Regions from separate parts of the Homo sapiens genome. Here regions 2 and 3 are each linked to region 1. Evidence: promoter capture Hi-C in human tissues and cell types (Jung and others, 2019). All regions are on one chromosome and are shown on one strand. Each heading gives the region's core, a stretch centred on a gene start or on the middle of the fragment in contact. The rest is flanking DNA. Distances are from core to core; before and after follow the strand shown.

Region 1 (3,654 bases), core at 861-3,360:
GGCCTCGGCCTCACAAAGTGCTGGGATTACAGGCGTGAGCCACCGTGCCTGGCCGAGAAAAAGCTTTTAACCGTATCAGTAGATACTGGTTTCGGGGTTTCTTTCGGGGTCACTTACACCCCTGCCACCTCCTCCAGTACCAATTTACCCATGGCCAAACACAGGGTGATGTGTAGGAACCTGAAAGCACGTCTCCGACCTCAGCTGCAAAACTGTGGAGTCCCACACACTAGACTTTATATTCCAGCATTTCCTCTCACCATTACATTTTTGCTTTTTTCCATCCTTACATTACCTTTACCACATTTTTGTTTTTCCCATAATTACATTAGATAAGGCAATGGCTAGACGTGGTCTTTTACTAACTTGTTCTATTGGGAGCGGACGAGAAAAAAAAAAAAGACAAACCCTAGAAATGTCTTCAGGTCCCAGCCATGTTTAGGAAAATACTTGAAGGCTTCTGCGGTGAGAGTGCTACCTGGTAAGGGCGTATGGACACACGTGGAGGGCAAGAAATGAATTTGGGTCTGGTGCCGAAACATCTTTCCACTGCTGTGATTTTGTTTTCTGGTCAGAGTAATAATGCTCGTTGTAAAATAAATAAATAAATAATACATAAAAAGGAAAAGGAAAATTCAGAGAAAATGAAAACAACTCGTAATCAACGTGCTTTTTGGATGTGAACTGCTCCCTTTGGGAGGGCAATGGAGAAGTGAGGACGCACTGGGTATCTGGCCCGGAACAGCCGGCAGTGGGTACACCCTGCCTGGTGAATTCGACCGGGGTTTTGGGGGACCCGCCACCCAAGGGCCGAAGAGCAGGGCCGCCCTACGGGCGCTCCCATTTGGCCACCTGAGTGGCGACTTGGCGCCTTCCTCGGAGCAGCTCCGGGGTTCCGTCGTCCCGGTTCCCACTGGTCCCTTACGCAGAGACCAAAGGCAGGAACCTTCCCTCGTAACTATCCACCGACTGAAAATAGATTCTGAGTCCGCCCCCGCCCCTCCCCCCTTAAAATCCTCCCCACTCTTAAAATCCTCCCCTTTAAAGGGAGCCACAGGGTGACGCCGGGGGAGTTTGCGGAAGCGCTAACCGCGTTGGGGCCTAGGGCGGATCCCGTGATTGGGACAGGCCCCGCCCCCGGCTCCACTTCCCCCATTGTGTGAGCGGCTCGGGCCTAGGCCCCGCCCCCCTCCGGAGGCCCGGCCACTCCCCTTTTCCACCCCCCCTTGGCTCATTTCCGGCCGCCGCCGCTACCGCTAGCCTGTAAGGAGGATTCGGCAGAGGGAAGAAACAACAGCCGCCATCTTGTTTGTGTGCTAGGCTGGGGGGGAGAGAGGGCGAGAGAGAGCGGGCGAGAGTGGGCAAGCAGGACGCCGGGCTGAGTGCTAACTGCGGGAGCCAGAGAGTGCGGAGGGGAGTCGGGTCGGAGAGAGGCGGCAGGGGCCGAGACAGTGGCAGGGGGCCCGGGGCGCACGGGCTGAGGCGACCCCCAGCCCCCTCCCGTCCGCACACACCCCCACCGCGGTCCAGCAGCCGGGCCGGCGTCGACGCCTAGGGGGGACCATTACATAACCCCGCGCCCCGCGGCGTCTTCTCCCGCCGCCGCGGGCGGCCCCGAACGGAGCCCCGGGGGGCGGGCGCTCCCAGCACCTGGCCGCCGGCGGTGGGGGCCGTAGCAGCGGCCGTATTTATTTATTTTCCGCGGGAAAGGAAGGCGAAGGAGGGGAGCGCGGCGCGAGGAGGGGCCGCCTGCGCCGCCGCCGGAGCGGGGCCTCCTCGGTGGGCTCCGCGTCGGCGCGGGCGTGCGGGCGGCGCTGCTCGGCCCGGCCCCCTCGGCCCTCTGGTCCGGCCAGCTCCGCTCCCGGCGTCCTTGCCGCGCCTCCGCCGGCCGCCGCGCGATGTGAGGCGGCGGCGCCAGCCTGGCTCTCGGCTCGGGCGAGTTCTCTGCGGCCATTAGGGGCCGGTGCGGCGGCGGCGGCGCGGAGCGCGGCGGCAGGAGGAGGGTTCGGAGGGTGGGGGCGCAGGCCCGGGAGGGGGCACCGGGAGGAGGTGAGTGTCTCTTGTCGCCTCCTCCTCTCCCCCCTTTTCGCCCCCGCCTCCTTGTGGCGATGAGAAGGAGGAGGACAGCGCCGAGGAGGAAGAGGTTGATGGCGGCGGCGGAGCTCCGAGAGACCTCGGCTGGGCAGGGGCCGGCCGTGGCGGGCCGGGGACTGCGCCTCTAGAGCCGCGAGTTCTCGGGAATTCGCCGCAGCGGACGCGCTCGGCGAATTTGTGCTCTTGTGCCCTCCTCCGGGCTTGGGCCCAGGCCCGGCCCCTCGCACTTGCCCTTACCTTTTCTATCGAGTCCGCATCCCTCTCCAGCCACTGCGACCCGGCGAAGAGAAAAAGGAACTTCCCCCACCCCCTCGGGTGCCGTCGGAGCCCCCCAGCCCACCCCTGGGTGCGGCGCGGGGACCCCGGGCCGAAGAAGAGATTTCCTGAGGATTCTGGTTTTCCTCGCTTGTATCTCCGAAAGAATTAAAAATGGCCGAGAATGTGGTGGAACCGGGGCCGCCTTCAGCCAAGCGGCCTAAACTCTCATCTCCGGCCCTCTCGGCGTCCGCCAGCGATGGCACAGGTTAGTTTCGGCAGCCCCGGCCTTCCACGTTCCCTTTAATCTTTTCTACTCGGTGCGCCTTTATTCTTCCATTTTTTTTTTCTTCCTCTCTCTCTAGTTCCCTGCCCCTTAATTAATTTTAAAGGTATTTGAATGAGCTGGTCGAAGACGTCCAGTAGCCCAACCATTTTCTTTGCCTCCTAATACATTGATTGCAACACTATGTCATATCGGTGTGTGTTCTGGAATTAGAGCTCGTAAGTGGGTGCTATATAGAAATGGCCTGTATTGTTGCTCTCATGCAATTTAATTTGGGAAATGCCAATGCATTTGTGTGTAAGAGCTCCTATGCAATTTAAGTTTCATTTTTTTTGTTCTTGGCAAATGAATTTCGAATCCTTTCTCTTTACTGTACTTACTGTGTTTCCTCTACTTTCCACTCTTCGAAATTTTCTCTCCTTTGCAGAATATTTTCTGTTGAGGAATAGGGTGTAAAAAAATCTTGATTTTGTGTGTGCGAGGTCCAAGATTTCAGGTTAGAGGTGAAGTTTAACAATTCTTTTATCTTACCTACCATTCTTAGCTTTTTTTTCCTTTTTCTTCTTATTTGCTTTAAGAATCAATATGGAGCGCAGTTCATTTCACATCTCCCAGTTCTTTGGTGTGAGACCAAAATGTCTGAAACTCTGGGTTTTTAGGTTGGGAGAACAGGGGCATGTTCTTTGCAGTTTGCAGTCACTTTCTCATTTTAGGGGAAATAAGATAAACAATTTTGTGGAGTTACGTACCTGGAAATCAAGGTTAGAAGTTGAAAGAGTTCCAATCATGAACTACAAACGTGAACTGATTGTACAAAAGTTTAAAATGTGCATTAGGTTTGGTGTTTGTGTGTGTCTTTGTCTTTTTACACTTTTAAACATACTTGGAGATCAAGATTTTCGTTTAAAAGCTTTACGACCAGTTCATTCAGTTGTGGACTAGCTCCTTTGTCAGGAGAAGTTCAGGGAGACTTCTTCCATCATCCCTTCATTCTTTTCTTACAGTTAGTTTAATGGTGT
Region 2 (3,654 bases), core at 339-2,838, 290 kb before region 1:
CATGCCTGTAATCCCAGCTACTTGGGAAGCTGAGGCAGGGGAATTGCTTGAACCAGGGAGATGGAGGTTGCAGTGAGCCGCGATCATGCCACTGCACTCCAGCCTGGGCAAAAGAGACTCTGTCTCAAAAAAGAAAAAAGAAAAAAATATATTACATATATATATATATATATATATATATATATATATATATATGTAAATGATAAATAACTAGGAGCTAGGTCAACTTAAATAAGAAAATTTGGTAGGCCTATTATCAATTTAAATAGGTCAGCCTCCATGACAAGGGAGAATACTCTAATATTTGTATTCTTCAAAACACATATTGTTACCTCTCCCCGCCTATCAGCTTACAATTGGTTGTTCAGTCCTCTAGGGTGCCATTAGCACTTATTTATGGCTCTTTCAGCACATATACTACAGTGAAATCCAACTCTTCTGCTAATTTGTGAGAGCATTCTTTCTATATCTGTGCACATCCTAGATTCTCAATTAAACATTTATTCAATTCACTGTACTTTCACTTATTTATGCTTTTTTGATGACCCCAACATAACTGTTCTTTTCTAGTCATGATAAATGATTAAATGATACTCAATGTTTCAAGAAATGACACTCAACGACTAAATGATATTCAATGTCTCACAAAACACTGAACCCACAAAGCTTTACAAATCCTACAAATCCATGCATCCAGCATCCTTGCTCATCTTCAGGAGGCAATTTCCAAGAAAAATGGGAGCTGGAAAGTTAGAGAAAGCTTATTAAGTTTATTAAGGCTCTGGCACTCATTTTCTATCGCATGGTACTGCATTTCTTTTCTTTTCTTTTTTTAAGACGGAGTCTTGCTCTTGTTGCCCAGACTGGAGGGCAATGGCGGGATTTCGGCTCACTGCAACCTCCACCTCTTGGATTCAAGCGATTCTCCTGTCTCAGCCTCCCGAGTAGCTGGGATTAAGGGCGCCCGCCTCCATGCCCAGCTAATTTTTTGTATTTTTAGTGGAGACGGGGTTTCATCATGTTGGCCAGGCTGGTCTCGAACTCCTGACCTCAGGTGATCCACCCGCCTCGGCCTCCCAAAATGCTGGGATTACAGGCGTGAGCCACCGTGCCTGGCCGGTACTGCATTTCTTTGAAGGGTACTGCATAGACAGGGCATCTCCAGACAGAAAAAGTCTAGCCTGGAAGCTACCTCTTCAAACACTGGGCCACCTTCATCCCTCTTTTCTGCCAGCTTTAAATAGACACGTGAAGGTTCCTAAACATAGAAGTCCTTGCCTACCTATCTGGATATCTTGAAGTGAAACACCAAGATAAAGAGAACAGTCAGCCCAAACAGCTCATTGGTCTATTACTACCTCAAGAACTGGCATATGAAAATTCAAATCAGGCCAGGCACGTTGGCTCAAGCCTGTAATCCCAGCACTTTGGGAAGCCGAGGCAGATGGGTCACCTGAGGTCAGGAGTTCGAGACCAGCCTGGCCAACATGGTGAAACTCCCCCTCTACTAAAAATACAAAACTTAGCCAGGCGTGGTGGTGGGCACCTGTAATCCCAGCTACTTGGGAGGCTGAGGCAAGAGAATCACTTGAACCCGGGAGGCGGAGGTTGCAGTGAGCCAAGATCGTGCCACTGCACTCCAGCCTGGACAACAAGAGGGAAACTCCTTCTCAAAAAAAAAGAAAATTCAAATGAGTAACACCAAGTAACAGTTTTATAAATTTAGTAGCACTGGAAAGACTGGATCAAGAGGGTTAGCTGAAAACCCACCACTGCCTCCTCCCTACTCCAATGATTAATAATGAGAACAGATTTTTATATAAAAGGACTATATAGAAAAACAAAAAGGGGTCTAATTGGTAGATGAGAATTAAAAGAATACCACAGTGAGACATTTCAAAATTTATTTATTTATAAGTGCCATGTAATAATTGTACATGTTTATAGGGTGCAGTGTAGTGTTTCAATGCATGTACACACTGTATAATGATCAAACTGGGGTAATTACCACACCCATTACTTTAAACATCATTTCTTTGTGGTGATAATATCGGAAATCTTCTCTTCTAGCTATCCTGAAATACGCACGACATTGTTATTTGCTATCGTCACCATAGTTTGTAATAGAACACCAGAACTTATTCATGTCTAACTTTTTCTTCTTTTAAAGAGATGGGGTCTCCCTGTGTTGCCCAAGTTGGCCTTGAACTCCTGGGTTCAGGCGATCCTCCTGCCTCAGATTCCCGAGTAGCTGGAACTGCAGCCCTGTGCCACCACAGTACCTGACTTAAATGAAACTTTGTACCCTTTAACTAACCTCTCCTGGTCCCCCTCTCCTTCCTACCATCTCTAGCCCCTGGTAACCACTATTCTACTCTCTACTTCTATAAAATCAATTTTTTTAGATTCTACTTATGAGTAAGATCATGTGATGTTTGTTCTGTGCCTGGCTTACTTCACTTAACATAATATTTATTGTCCAGGTTCATCCATGTCACCACAAATGGCAGGATTTCATTCTGTTTTACAGCTGAATAAAATTCCCATTGGTATATTTACATTTTTCTTATCCATTCATCTGTAGATAAGCATTGATTCCACATTTTTTCTACTGTGAATAGCACTGCAATTAACACAGATATGCAGAGGTCTCTTTGACACGCTGATTTCATTTCCTTTGGATATATACCCAGTAATGGGATTGCTGGATCATATGGTAGTTCTATTTTTAATTTTTTGAGGAACCTCCATAATGTTTCCATAATGGCTGTACCAATTTACATTCCCATCAACAGTGTGCAAGAGTTCCCTTTTCTCAGTATCCTCACCAGCATTTGCTAGTTTTTGTTTTTTTTTTTTTTTTAATGGCTAAGTTGGAAAGTGGCTCACCGTATGCTACACATTTCCACTATGTCGGATCTCACTTCTAGTTTCCAGCTGAGCCATCTGAGGTGACTGGGCAAGTCCTTTCTCTGAATGTTTCATTTCCCATAAACGAGAAAATAGGTGGAGGGCCTTAGAGAGTTTTGATGTGAATAACAGCTATTAGATATCATCAAGAGCTTTTTCTCCAGACGACACTGACACAGGCACACTGGGTTCTGCTTTCCTTATATCCCCCTTCTGAGCCCAGGCCCTGTTCCTCTCACTTTCAATCCCAATTCGGGCTTCAAAGGACTAGCAAAAGGAGTCCTTTTAATAATATCTAGTGCTCCTTTGTCCTGAAATCTGGCTAAGGGAAGATTTCAGGGCCTCAGCTGGTTGAGGAATGGTAGAGACAATCCATCCTTGCCCATCTACGCACCCAAGCCCAGAGCAAGTGTGTACTTGGGGCTCGCTGGTACCTAGATGTGCAAGGTCACTCTACCAGGGCCCCTGTGAAGGAATGGGATCCCTATTTTCTGTCTTTTTTATAATAGTCAATCTAATTGGGGTGAGGTGATATCCCATTGTGATTCTGACTGGCATTTCTCTAATGATTAGTGATGTTGAGCTTTTTTTTAAGTATCTCTTGGCCAATTCTATGTCTTCTTTTGAGAAATGTCTATTCAGAGCTTTCATTTTTTTAATTATTTACTTGGTTTTTGTTTGTTTTGTTTTTGTTTGTTTTTGCTATTGAGTTGTGTGAGTTGCTTGTATATTCTGGATATTAAC
Region 3 (3,654 bases), core at 373-2,872, 270 kb before region 1:
CTCAACACAGCAGCCAGGGTGATCACGTTTAAAGGTAAATCAGCAAGTTCAACAGCTAGCCAGAGTGAAAGTCTCACACAATTTGGCCCCCTGAAACCTATTTGCCTCTTTGTTCCCTCCACTCCGGAAACACAGGCCTCCATGCCCATCTTAAAGCAAGTCACGCAAGCGTCCATCTCAGCCTTCATGCTGGCTGAAAGGCTCTTCTGGCTGAACTGAATGAACCAGGCTTCCTGAATTAGGCATTTTCATGAAATGCTGTGTCACTTAATTCTCTAAACTCTGTGAGGTAGGTATCACTTCCCCCACTTTACAGATTAAGAAAGTAAGGTTTACAGGGCATCTAGCTAACAAATGATGGAGTTAGGGTTAAATCCAGATTAGTCTACAGAGAAGGTGAGCTCTCAGTGAAGTTTCTGGAGGCTAAACAGAGGATTCAGTGATGTTCCTCTGAAGTCACAGTGATTTTAACAGCTAAAGGTGTGTGCTAACAACTGGTGAAGAATATGAGAAAAGGCAGTCAAAGAGATAAAAGAACCACAAGAGGAGTCACCCAAGCCAAAAGTGGAAAGTTTTAAGGAAAAGAGGGGAGAGGGGAAGTGTCAAGTGGAACCTAGACACCAGAAGCCCAAGAATCAAGCGTATACCTCATAACAAACCACACTTGTGGTAGACAGGAACCCAGATCTTGATTTAGAAAGAAAGAAAAAAAAGCCAGGCACAGTGGCTCATGCCAGCAGTTTAGGACGCCAAATCGAGAGGATCGTTTGAGGCCAGGAATTCGAGACCAGCCTGGGCAACACTGCCAGACCCCAAAAATTTTTTTTAAAAATGTAGCCGGGTGTGGTGGCTCACACCTGCAGTCCCAGCTACTCAGGAAGCTGAGGTGGGCGGATCGCTGGAGCCCGGGAGATCGAGGCTGCAGTGAGTCGTGATCGCGCCACTGCACTCCAGCTTGGGCAACAGAGCAAGACCCTGTCCGGAAAAAAAAAAAAAAAAAAAAGGATCTATCTTCTCCTGCCAATAACGGTGCCCAGAGCTATCCTACTAGGTATTGCCACTTGCCCGCGGCAAGCGTGAAGACAGGCTGTAGGGAAGCATGTGACTAAGCAACACGGCTTCACACCTACGTTCTCCTCCGGGCCAGTAAAGCAAAGTGTGTGAGTGTGCGGTGGTAGCCTGACCTTAAACTTCCCACGGCAAAGATGCGGACCCTGAGCGGGCACGTGTGAACACGGCTCTCTACCCCGCAGTCTCTAGGAGACCAGGAGGTGGCGGAGTCTCGGCCCTTACCCCGAATTCCTCCAACAACTTTCCGCCAATGGCCCATTCCTCTCTGCCCCACAGTCATGACAGTGGACCCCAACCCACACTACCTCCCTCTCAGACCCATCCCTCAGGCATATCCCGGGACTGGCCCCCGAGAAGCCTTATAACCCGTTGCGGCCCGGGCGTAAAGACCCCGTCTCACCACGGCTCCGGCCACGGCGTGGACCAGGCTTTCGTAGGACAGCACGGAAGCCATTGGTGCGGCTCCTCGAAGACCCAGCCACACTTTTCCCACAGATGCCGCAGCCAGTGGAGTTAGGAAAGGAGCACCGGAGCTCAGGGTGTGAGAGTCGCAATCCCCGCCCTCTCAAACCCGCCCGCCTGCCCTAGAACCACTTCCGGGTCGCGGGGCGGGAAAGCGGGGGGGGGGGGGCGGCTAAGAACGCCCCTGAACGCTGATTGGCCCCTGTGGGCGCGGGGCGGGACAGCGAGGTGTTCGCGGGGCTGGGCTCCAAGGCGCAAGGCGGCCTGACACCAGGTACCCGGCTCCCGGTTCCTCCGACGTTCTCTGGCGTTCCCGGGCCCTGACCAGTTCCTCCATCTCAGAAGTCTTAATGGCCTTCTTTTACTCTGGTGACAAAGATGGGGAAACTCAATGAGACTCCAGTCTCCCTGTTTCTCTGCGCCTGAGCTCTTTTCTATTCTGAAAGTCACATTTTGGCCAAGAGGAAAAAAACTCACTTGTGGACTTGGAAACTTCTTCCTCCAGAAAAACCCTTGAGTGTGGTGGGAAGAGATGTTGAGCATCAGGAGCCCAAAATACAAGACGCGAGTGGGAGCCTCCCCCTAGTTGGCAACTATGGAAGTCATTTAACCTCTTGGGTTTCCTCTGTGAAATGACAATGTACTAGTACCAACAATCCCCATCTGCTGTGAGGATTACGAAAGCCAATTTATGTAGTAGTACTTCATAAAATACTGAAGGAAAAAAATTTTTTTCCATGTTGCAAAGTGACTAACAAAATTACACAAAACTAAAGCAGCCACATTCAGCTTTAACCTGTCATACTGTGAGATTCTGCTTCAGGATGCTCCTCAGGGACTCAGGGATTCTTTCCTGAGACACCATCACCACTTGTCTTTACCATGTTTCCTTTTAGAATATCCTCGTGATAACTCCTCAGTGCTGACTACATGCCAGGCTTAGTGTTTTATGCCCATCATCACACTTAATCCCTGGGAGAGGGGTCTAACAAAGTTTAACCTGGCCGTTTTCACAAAATTTGCAGAAGATACTGCTTCCAGGAACATTCCCATCACGCCATAGAATCATGACGTGAAAGTGAAGGACCAAAAGTGAAGCGAAGATGATTTTGGGCTGGGCGCAGCGGCTCAGGCCTGTAATCCTAGCACTTTGGGAGGCCGTAGCGGGCAGATCACTTGAGGTCAGAAGTTTGAGACAAGCCTGGCCCATATGGCAAAACCCTGTCTCTATTAAAAATAGAAAAAATTAGCCGGACATGGTGGCACGCGCCTTGTAGAAATTACAATGTTGAAACTGCAGCTACTAGGGAGGCTGAGGCAGGAGAATCGCTTGAACCCAGGAAGCAAAGGTTGCAGTGAGCCAAGATTGCACCACTGCACTCTAGCCTGGGACAGAGTGAGACTCCTAAAAAAAAAAAAAAAAAGATTATTTTGGCATGGGAACATAGAAACTAGTTGGCTGTAAAACTTGAGAACTCAGTTCTCATTGACTCCTGATCAAATTGGGAGCTTGCTGTCAAGAATATACTGGATTATGCATCATAGTTATGAAAACATTGTTAATACTTTGTTTTGACGTTTTTGTATCTTACATACCAAAAACATTTTGATCAGCTTTTTTTTTTTTTTAAACCTGAGACAGTGTTTCTCTGCGTTGTCCAGGCTGGTCTTGTACTCCTGGGCTCAAGTGATCCACCTGCTTCAGCCACCCAAAGTGCTCGTATTACAGGCATGAGCCACTGTACCGGGCCTTGCAACCTTTTTTTTTTTTTTCAGATGGAGTTTCACTCTTGTGGCCCAGGCTTGGCTCACTGCAACCTCCGCCTCCCGGGTTCAAGTGATTCTCCTACCTCAGCCTCTCGAGTAGCTGGGATTACAGGCATGCGCTACCACGCCCAGCTAATTTTTGTATTTTTAGTAGAGACGGGGTTTCATCATGTTGGTCAGGATGGTCTCAAATCTCTTGACCTCGTGGTCCGCCCGCCTCGGCCTCCCAAAGTGCTGGGATTACAGGTGTGAGCCACAGCGCCCAGCATGATCAACTGAAGACTGACATACTGAAAACAGTATTTTTTTTTTTTTTTTTGAGACGGAGTATCGCTCTGTCACCTAGGCTGGAGT

Evidence for each region. The method cuts DNA at HindIII sites, captures the fragments that hold promoters and counts their contacts. A contact is called where the count stands out against the background at its distance.
Region 2: a contact is called between a fragment that was not itself captured here and the fragment with the promoter of EP300 in region 1, in 2 of the 25 tissues and cell types used here (IMR-90 fibroblasts and lymphoblastoid cells).
Region 3: a contact is called between the fragment with the promoter of SLC25A17 here and the fragment with the promoter of EP300 in region 1, in 1 of the 25 tissues and cell types used here (adrenal gland).

What each region holds. Positions count from the first base shown.
Region 1 is chr22:41,090,482-41,094,135 of GRCh38, forward strand. EP300 (EP300 lysine acetyltransferase) reads left to right here and starts at 2,111. Exons shown (of 31, transcript NM_001429.4): 1 at 2,111-2,617. The coding sequence starts at 2,524. It overlaps MIR1281 (microRNA 1281), which reads left to right and starts at 2,032; the gene lies at 2,032-2,085. RefSeq lists silencers at 1,012-1,301, 1,402-2,171, 2,352-2,451 and an enhancer at 2,562-2,801. The HindIII fragment of the contact is 16,440 bases long and covers 1-3,654 here.
Region 2 is chr22:40,800,974-40,804,627 of GRCh38, forward strand. All of the region lies in intron 1 of SLC25A17 (solute carrier family 25 member 17), which reads right to left. Among named protein-coding and RNA genes, the nearest start is that of MIR4766, 11 kb to the right of the region's middle. The HindIII fragment of the contact is 6,915 bases long and covers 1-3,654 here.
Region 3 is chr22:40,817,724-40,821,377 of GRCh38, forward strand. SLC25A17 (solute carrier family 25 member 17) reads right to left here and starts at 1,623. Exons shown (of 9, transcript NM_006358.4): 1 at 1,472-1,623. The coding sequence starts at 1,525. The HindIII fragment of the contact is 14,485 bases long and covers 1-3,654 here.